Regions from separate parts of the Homo sapiens genome. Here region 2 is linked to region 1. Evidence: promoter capture Hi-C in 16 types of primary human blood cells and fetal thymus (Javierre and others, 2016). All regions are on one chromosome and are shown on one strand. Each heading gives the region's core, a stretch centred on a gene start or on the middle of the fragment in contact. The rest is flanking DNA. Distances are from core to core; before and after follow the strand shown. Region 1 holds the start of PTH2 (parathyroid hormone 2). Region 2 overlaps PPFIA3 (PPFI scaffold protein A3).

The links. Contacts are between HindIII fragments. The CHiCAGO score rates a contact against its expected background, and 5 or more counts as called.
Region 2: a fragment that was not itself captured here is called in contact with the fragment with the promoter of PTH2 in region 1 in 1 of 17 cell types (total B cells); the score reaches 5.4 in total B cells.

What each region holds. Positions count from the first base shown.
Region 1 is chr19:49,421,459-49,425,384 of GRCh38, forward strand. It overlaps PTH2 (parathyroid hormone 2), which reads right to left and starts at 1,983. Exons shown (of 2, transcript NM_178449.4): 1 at 1,754-1,983; 2 at 961-1,184. The coding sequence starts at 1,881. The coding sequence ends at 1,010. It also overlaps a transcript of GFY not described here. RefSeq lists a silencer at 2,099-2,302. The HindIII fragment of the contact is 6,183 bases long and covers 1-3,516 here.
Region 2 is chr19:49,136,348-49,140,803 of GRCh38, forward strand. PPFIA3 (PPFI scaffold protein A3) reads left to right here. Exons shown (of 30, transcript NM_003660.4): 15 at 377-564; 16 at 1,858-2,080; 17 at 3,321-3,484; 18 at 3,614-3,741. Among named protein-coding and RNA genes, the nearest start is that of HRC, 17 kb to the right of the region's middle. RefSeq lists an enhancer at 475-981. The HindIII fragment of the contact is 8,599 bases long and covers 1-4,456 here.

The DNA.
Region 1 (3,926 bases), core at 733-3,232:
CTTCTCCTGCCCCAGCCTGGCGCCCCGAAGGTCTCTAGAGAAGGAGACCCGAAGTCAGAAAACCCTGAAAAAAATTGCTGGACGCTGCTGTGAGAAGAGGAAACCCTTTTCAAATAAAAGCGTTTTGCTACGTAACGGGCGCTGTACTGAAGTCTTATGAAGTATATCTTATTGGATCCTCGTAACAGATGAAGAAAAGGAGACACAGAGACTGACGTCAAGAAGGCTTTCTCAGTACTACGCAGCTAGATTTGGAGGACCCTGGGTTTGGATGCTAGGGCTGCCTCACACCAGAGCCCGCGATCTTTCCACTGTGCCTGGGGAGAAGTCTGGAAGTGATGGGAGGGAGGAACAGCGAAATTCAAAGATGAGAGCTGATGGAGAGACAGATAGAAACCTAACGGAGGAAAGAAAAGGAAGATATGAAGGAGTCAGGCAGAGGAAAAAGGAAAAAAGAAAGTGATGGAGAAGGGAAGGAAGAGTTTCAGAGGCAGAAGGAGAATAGAGAGAGGAGGCAGAGATTCCCAGAAGACCAGAAAGCCAAAAGGGTGAAAGGGGAGATAACCACAAGGACCCAGGGAGACGGGGACACATACCCAGAGAGGAAAGAGACCCAGAGAAAGGGACAGAGACGGAGGAGGACAGAGACCTTGGAGATTACAGAGAACCAGAGAGAAGGGGACAGAGATGGGGGTAGGGAGGGACAGGGGCCCAGAATGAAAGGAGGGGGCGGGGGGGTGGGGGCGATAGGGAAGCAGAGATCCAGAAATAGGAAAGAAGCCAGCTTCCTGGACAAAGACAGGCAGAGAGAAACGGAATTGAGGAAAGAAAATAGAGTGGGGACTGAGGAGAGAGATGCCAGAGTGGCCGACACAGAGTCCTGTCTCTTTTCTACCCCCCATTTCAAGCCCCGCGCCCCCAACCCAACGCACACGCAGGTCGCGCAGGAACTAGGCGCAGTCCGGAGCGCAGGGCATGGTCTTTATTAAGATGGGGACGGGCAGCGCGCTCAGGGCGCATCCAACACCAGCAGCTTGTGCATGTACGAGTTCAGCCAGTGGCGGCGCTCGAGGGCGGCCAGCAACCGCGCGCGCTCCCGGAAGGCCGCGTCGTCCGCCAGCGCCAGGCTCCTCCGCGGCCTGGGGGTGGCGGGATCCGCCCAGGCCCGTCCTGGGGGGCGGAGGCTGTGGAGAGACGCGGTGACCGCGCGTCCAGACTCGCTCTTGCCGCCGCCTGTCCTCCCCGCGGTCTAACTCGAAGCCCCGTTACTGCCCAGTCCGTGGAGTGGCTCGGTCCGGCTCCCCCTGTCTCTCTCGTTCTCTGTGTGGGTCTCTGTCTCTCTGCTCACCAGGTTCGAAACTCCCCAGGTACTGAGACCGAGTCTGATGCACTTGTCCGCCCACAGCGCTCAGCGCATGGCCAGGCGCACACCAAGAACCCAATAAACGTTGCTCAAAGAATGAATCCGTTTCTGCAACGACTCCTTTCGAGCCTCTCCACGCCTTTCTCGGGATCTATCTTTCTGTGTCTCTTTCCCTTGCTGATTTTCTGTCCATTTCCCGCACCACCACTACCACCAAACCCTCCTCCCGCCTTCCCCCACCCCTAGTCTCTGTCTTCTCGCTGGGTCTCGGTCGCCCTCTCTTTGGGCTTCTGTTCCGCTTTCTGGATCTTCCGTCCCCTTTCTCTTTGGTTCTCTTCCCACTTCTCCAAGTTCCCACCCCTCCCTGGGAGTTCTGGGACTGGCACCTACCTGAGGACCCCGACCGGGGGCAGGGCGACTCCCGAGGCAGTGCGGACGCCCCAGGGCACCACCAGCAGCAGCAGCAGCAGCAGCAGCAGCCGAACCCGAGGGCTCCTGGACACCTGGCGGGTCTCCATCACCTGTGGAGAACCAGAAAGGGGCTCAGTAGGGCTGCATCCCGGCCCAGAACCCCGGGCCCCACCATGCATCCACCCCCAGCTTCCCGCACAGTCCCCTACCGTGCAGTGGGCTGGGGCAGCGATGGTGGCAGCCCCCTTATATCGCCTCCGCAGCCCCCGCACCGGGCAGTGACGCAGGCCGGGGGGCCGGGGACGCGGGGTCACCCCCTCCCCAGGCTCATTAGGAGCCGCCAGCGGTAATGAGGAGCCGGGGGTGGGGGACCTGCCGCTGCCTTGGCCGCCACCAACTAATTGGGACCAGAAGCTGGACCTGAGACGAGGGAGGGGGAGAGACAGACAGACAGAGAGGTGGACACAGGGGGTGTGTCAGAGGGCTAAAAATAGAGACTGGCGGAAGGACCGTCAGAGGAACAGAGACACAAAGAGAAGGACAAAGACAGAGTGGCCGAGGAAGAAATAGAGAGAAAGAATGGGAACGACAGAAAAAGAAAGGAAAAGGAAGAAAACAAGAAAAGAGAGCGAAGGAGATGGAAACGAACAGTCAGATGGAGATGGAGGAGGGAAAGAAAAGGCTCTCAGAAAGACAGACGGAAATGGAAGGACGTCCTGGTCTGGAAGGAGCTGCCCAGAGATAAATACAGCAGCGAGAGGCCCAGAAAGATCGAGGGTGAGGTAGGGAGGGGGGAAAGGCAAGAAATGGCAAAGGGTACGTGTGGCAGGGGTGTGAGGACAGGAAAAGTGACAGACCACATCAGAAAAACCTCAGAGAGTGAGAAGAGGGGAAAACAGACAGGGCTCCTGAGCTGCCCTAAGGATGTGTCTAAGCCCTTATCTGGGAGGAGTTTGGGGGTGCTGTGAAGATTAAAGCCCAGTCCTCCTCACACTGACTCTTTTTGTGTGTGTGTGTTTGTCTGTTTGAGATGGAGTCTTGCTCTTGTTGCCCAGGCTGGAGTGCAATGGCACTATCTCGGCTCACTGCAACCTCCACCTCCCAGGTTCAAGCCATTGTCCTGCCTCAGCCTCCCGAGTAGCTGGGATTACAGGTGCCCACCATCACGCCCAGCTAATTTTTGTATTTTTAGTAGAGATAGGGTTTCGCCAAACTGTTGGCCAGGCTGGTCTTGAACTCCTGACCTTGTGATCTGCCCTCCTTGGCCTCCCAGAGTGTTGGGATTACAGGCGTGAGCCAGCACACCCAGTCCACACTGACTCTTAAGAGGGGCCTCAGCCGGGTGCTGTGGCTCATGCCTGTAATCCCAGCACTTTGGAAGGCCGTGGTGGGTGGATCACTTGAGGTCAGGAGTTCGAGACCAGACTGGCCAACATGGCGAAACTCCTTCTCTACAAAAATACATAAATTAGGTGTGGTGTAATCCCAGCTACTTGGGAGGCTGAGGCAGGAAAATCGCTTGAACCTGGGAGAGGGAGGTTGCAGTGAGCTGAGATCGCACCACTGCACTCCAGCCTGGGCAACAGAGTGAGACTCTGTCTCAAAAAAAAAAAAAAATTTAAAAAGAGGGGCCTTTATACACAGTGAGGAGAAGATGGGCAAAACTTGGAAGTCCTACAGAGCAGTAGAAACTTGGGATGTGGGAACTTGGGCTCCTAGTTTCCTAGGAAGGTGGTGGCAGAAGCTTGGACTCCTGAGTCTAAGAGTGGATGGGACAGGGACCCAGATTCCTATGTTCTGGGGAAGGAGGAGGCTGGGGACTTGGATTCCTGAATCTGAGGAAGGAAGGAGCTAGAGGACTGGAGTTCTGAGTCTGGGGGGAGGGAGCTGGGGGATACAACTTAGGGGACTTGAAATAGGAAGGTACCAGGGAACTAGACCCCTGGGTTTTCAGGTAGGAGAGGGTAGAGGGCCAGGACCACTGGTTTCAAAAAAATAATTTGGGCCACATCTCCACTAGATCAATCCAGTTTCTAACTCCCTTCCCCACCCCAGAGAAAATGTCCTTTACTTCTGTCCCTTTAAGAGTCTAAGTCTGTCGCTAGGCTCCCAGGATCCCCTGGGAGGGGGTGAGGTGCGTCACCTGTGTGCC
Region 2 (4,456 bases), core at 1,375-3,874, 280 kb before region 1:
ACACTTGCTGGCGCCGAGGCAGGCAGATCACTTGAGGTCAGGAGTTCGACAGCAGCCTTGCCAAAATGGCATCGCTACTAAAAATGCAAAAATTAGCCGGGCGTGGTAGCGGGCGCCTGTAATCCCAGCTACTCAGGAGACTGAGGCAGAAGAATCGTTCGAACCTGGGAGGCGTAACCCGAGATTGCGCCACTGCACTCCAGCCTGGGCGACAGAATGAGACTCTGTCTCAAGAAAAAATAAATAAAATAAAAAAAATAAAGCTGGGCTGGGAAAAGCATCAGTGAGGTCGGGCAAGTCAGGATCATGAGCCAAGACCCAGCGCCAACCTCGGCCCCCAGCCACCTAATGTCCCTCTGTCCCCACACAGGGATAGGATTGGGAGCGGTCTGCCCCTGCGGGCTCCATACCACCCCCATTCCCTGGGGAACTGGACGGCTCCGATGAGGAGGAGGCAGAGGGGATGTTTGGGGCCGAGCTGCTGTCCCCCAGTGGGCAGGCTGACGTGCAGACGCTGGCCATCATGCTTCAGGAGCAGCTGGAGGCCATCAACAAGGAGATCAAGTGAGCCCTGGCCCCGCCCCGGCCTGCCCTGCCCTGCCGGAGCTGACTCCACAGCCCTTCTGGCTCTGGAGGCCTGAAAGCCTGAGTCCGTCTCCTCTTACACCATCCACAAGGAATTCTTCCAGCCCAACACTCACTCCGCTGTCCAGGCATCCCCTAGGATACACTCAGAAGTCTTCTATGTGCTACCTACACATATACCCCCCAGCCAGTACTCACCATTCCCCAACACACCAAAGCCTGCATCCCCAAATAGCCCAGTTCCTCTTGATGCATCAAGAATCTTCCATTACGCCATCGATTTTGTGGTTTCACATAACCAGTGCCCAGAGTCTCCCACTACCCTAGGAATCTCAAGACAACACAAGGTTCCCAACCTCAAACACCAAGAATCTCATCCTAACATGCTAATCAAAAACTTCAACTCCAGGCTGGGCACAGTGGCTCACGCCTGTAATCCCAGCACTTTGGGAGGCTGAGGCCAGCGGATCATGAGGTCATGAGGTCAGGAGATAGAGACCATCCTGGCTAACATGGTGAAAACCTGTCTCTACTAAAAATGCAAAAAATTAGCCAGGCATGGTGGCAGGCGCCCGTAGTCCCAGCTACTCAGGAGGCTGAGGCAGGAGAATGGCATGAACCCGGGAGGCGGAGCTTGCAGTGAGCCGAGATAGTGCCATGCACTCCAGCCTGGGCTACAGAGCGAGACTCCGTGTCAAAAAAAAAAAAAAAAAAAAAAAAAAAAAAGTCCCCAACTTATTAAGAAGCCCCCAGTGATGTAAAGTCTACCCTGATTCACCAGCAATGGCCATATTCAGCAATTCTCTTATAATGTACTCCCCATGAGCCTTCGGCAAATATACCATGACCACCACTTTCCATACCAAATGAGTCCATGCCCTTCCCAGATCCTAGATTGGCCTGAGTCCCTGATCTCACAATGCTCCTATTATGACCTTGCTCTTACAGGCCACCTTGAACTTGACCTTTTGTCCATAGTAATCCCTTCATGATTTTCCAAACCCCTTGACTATCATCAGGGCCACCCTGATACAAACCCCAATCACCTTGATAGCCCTAATCCTGCAATGACTTCCTGAGACTCTCAGGACCCCTTGACTCTCCTTGAGCCTGGAAGGCCTTCAGAAACCCACCAAAGTCCTCTGACGTCATTGCACCGTCCCCAGAATTCCCATTGCCCCACCAGGCCTTTCTGGCCCATTGTGCTCCCAGATTCCCTCTCCCGCTGTCTGCTGCGGCCCCTCACCCAGTTTCCCCTATTTCCCTCCTCAGGCTGATCCAAGAGGAGAAGGAGACAACAGAACAGAGGGCAGAGGAGCTGGAGAGTCGGGTGTCCAGCTCTGGCTTGGACTCGTTGGGCCGCTACCGCAGCAGCTGCTCCCTGCCCCCCTCCCTCACCACCTCTACCCTTGCCAGCCCCTCCCCTCCCAGCTCTGGCCACTCAACACCCCGCCTGGCACCCCCTAGCCCTGCCCGTGAGGGCACCGACAAGGCTGTGAGTGCTCTGAAGTCTCCCCAGCCTAGTAGGGGGATGGGGAGAGGTCAGAGGCAGGGCTCCCCAGTGTACAGCAACAATAACCCCTCACACCAGTGGTTTTCCAAAGCAACCTCAGCTTTCCCTAAAGGTTCAAACTCAAAGGGCAAAGGGGAGGCTGAGTCACTGGGATCTTGAACCCTAACTTTCACTTTAGTCAGATCTGGTCTACTTTTATTTCTCATGCGTCAAGTTTCTGCATAGGATTTTAAAAAGTTTCTGGCTGGGTGCGGTGGCTCACGCCTGTAATCCCAGCACTTCGGGAGGCCAAGGTGGGCAGATCACTTGAGGTCAGGAGTTCGAGACCCACCTGGCCAACATGGTGAAACCCCCACCTCTACTAAAAATACAAAAATTAGCCTGGCCTGGTGGCACGTGCCTGTAATTCCAGTTACTCGGGAGGCTGATGCAGGAGAATCAATTGAACCCAAGAGGCAGAGTTTGCAGTGAGTTGAAATTGTGCCACTGCACTCCAACCTGGGAGACAGAGTGAAACTGTGTCTCAAAAAAAAAAAAAGTTTCTGTGACAACATGCATTGGAGAACTACAAATTAGATCCTCAGAATTGACCTTTGAGGGAGACAAAGAGATATTGGCCCTATTTTACTCCCTTAAATTCAGCTTTCCTGCTTCCAGAACCTGTAACTCATTAGCTTTCTTTGAGGCCTGACCAACATGGTGAAACCCCATCTCTACTAAAAATACAAAATTATCCGTGTATGGTGGTGTGGGCCTGTAGTCCCAGCTTCTTGGGAGGCTGAGGCTAAAGAATCACTTAAACCCGGGAGGCAGAGGTTGCAGTGAGCTGAGATCATGCCACTGCACTCCAGCCTGGCGACAGAGCTAGACTCTGTCTCAAAAAAAAAAAAAAAATTACCCGGGCATGGTGGCACATGCCTTTAATCTCAGCTACTTGGGAGGCTGAGGCAGGAGAATCTCTTGAACCTGGGAGGCAGAGGTTGCAGTGAGCCGAGATTGTGCCATTGCACTCCAGCCTGGGCCACAAGAGTGAAACTCCATCTCAAAAAAAAAAAAAAAAAAAAGTTTCTGCAACTCACCCTGACTTGAGCTAGACTACCTTCGTATACTGTGTTCTAAACCAGGGTCACCCCACACACACCTTAGTAGACATCTCAGTTAATAAGGAGCCCCCGACATGACTCTTTGAACTCAATCCAGCATCTGTGCCCTCTGTCCTCAGAATCATGTCCCTAAGGAGGAAGCTGGAGCTCCACGAGGGGAGGGGCCGGCCATCCCAGGAGACACCCCACCACCCACTCCCCGCTCTGCCCGTCTTGAGAGAATGACCCAGGCCTTGGCACTGCAGGCGGGGTCCCTGGAAGATGGGGGACCCCCACGGGGAAGGTCAGCAGGGACAAGGGATAGGGACAGGGAGAAGCTGGCTTGGGAAGATGAGAAGGGGGTGGACAAGGACTTGGGAGGAGAGGGGGCATCTCAGCAAGCATATGCTCTCATTCTCTCCTGCTTTCCCAGTGAGGGCACCCCAGATTCTCTGCACAAAGCCCCCAAGAAGAAGAGCATCAAGTCATCCATAGGCCGTCTCTTTGGCAAGAAAGAGAAGGGACGAATGGGACCCCCAGGCCGGGACAGCTCTTCTCTGGGTGAGTACCTCACTCTAACCCTTCCCTCCTTTGTTCCTTCCTCCCTTCCTCCCTCCCTTTCTTTCTTCTTTGTATGTTCATTTGACATCCATTCATGTCTTCATTCATTTGGTGATTTATTTAGAATTTGGAAGGAACACAGCTTGCCAAGGTAGGCGGGAGGAGGAGGGAAAAGGAAAGGGCACTCTGGGACCTGCTTGGGTGACTGGGTAGGTAAAGGAATTTATTTCCTTTACTTATTTTTTTGTTGTTTTTTGGTTTTTGTTGTTGTTGTTTTGAGATGGAGTTTCACTCTGTCACCCAGGCTGGAGTGCAGTGGCAACGATCTTGGCTCACTGGAACCTCTACCTCCTGGGTTCAAGCGATTCTCCTGCCTCGGCCTCTTGAGCAGCTGGGACTATAGGCGCCCGCCACTATGCCTGGCTAATTTTTTTGTATTTTTAGTAGAGATAGGGTTTCCTCATGTTGGCCAGGCTGGTCTTGAACTCCTGACCTCAGATGATCCACCCACCTCGGCCTCCCAAAGTGCTGGGATTACAGACTCATTTACCTTTTTTTTTTTTTTTTTTTTTTTTTTTTGTTTGGAGACGGAGTCTTGCTCTGTCGCCCAGGCTGGAGTGCAGTGGTGCTATCTCGGCTCACTGCAAGCTCCGCCTCCCAGGTTCATGCCATTCTCCTGCCTCAGCCTCCCCAGTAGCTGGGACTACAGGCGCCC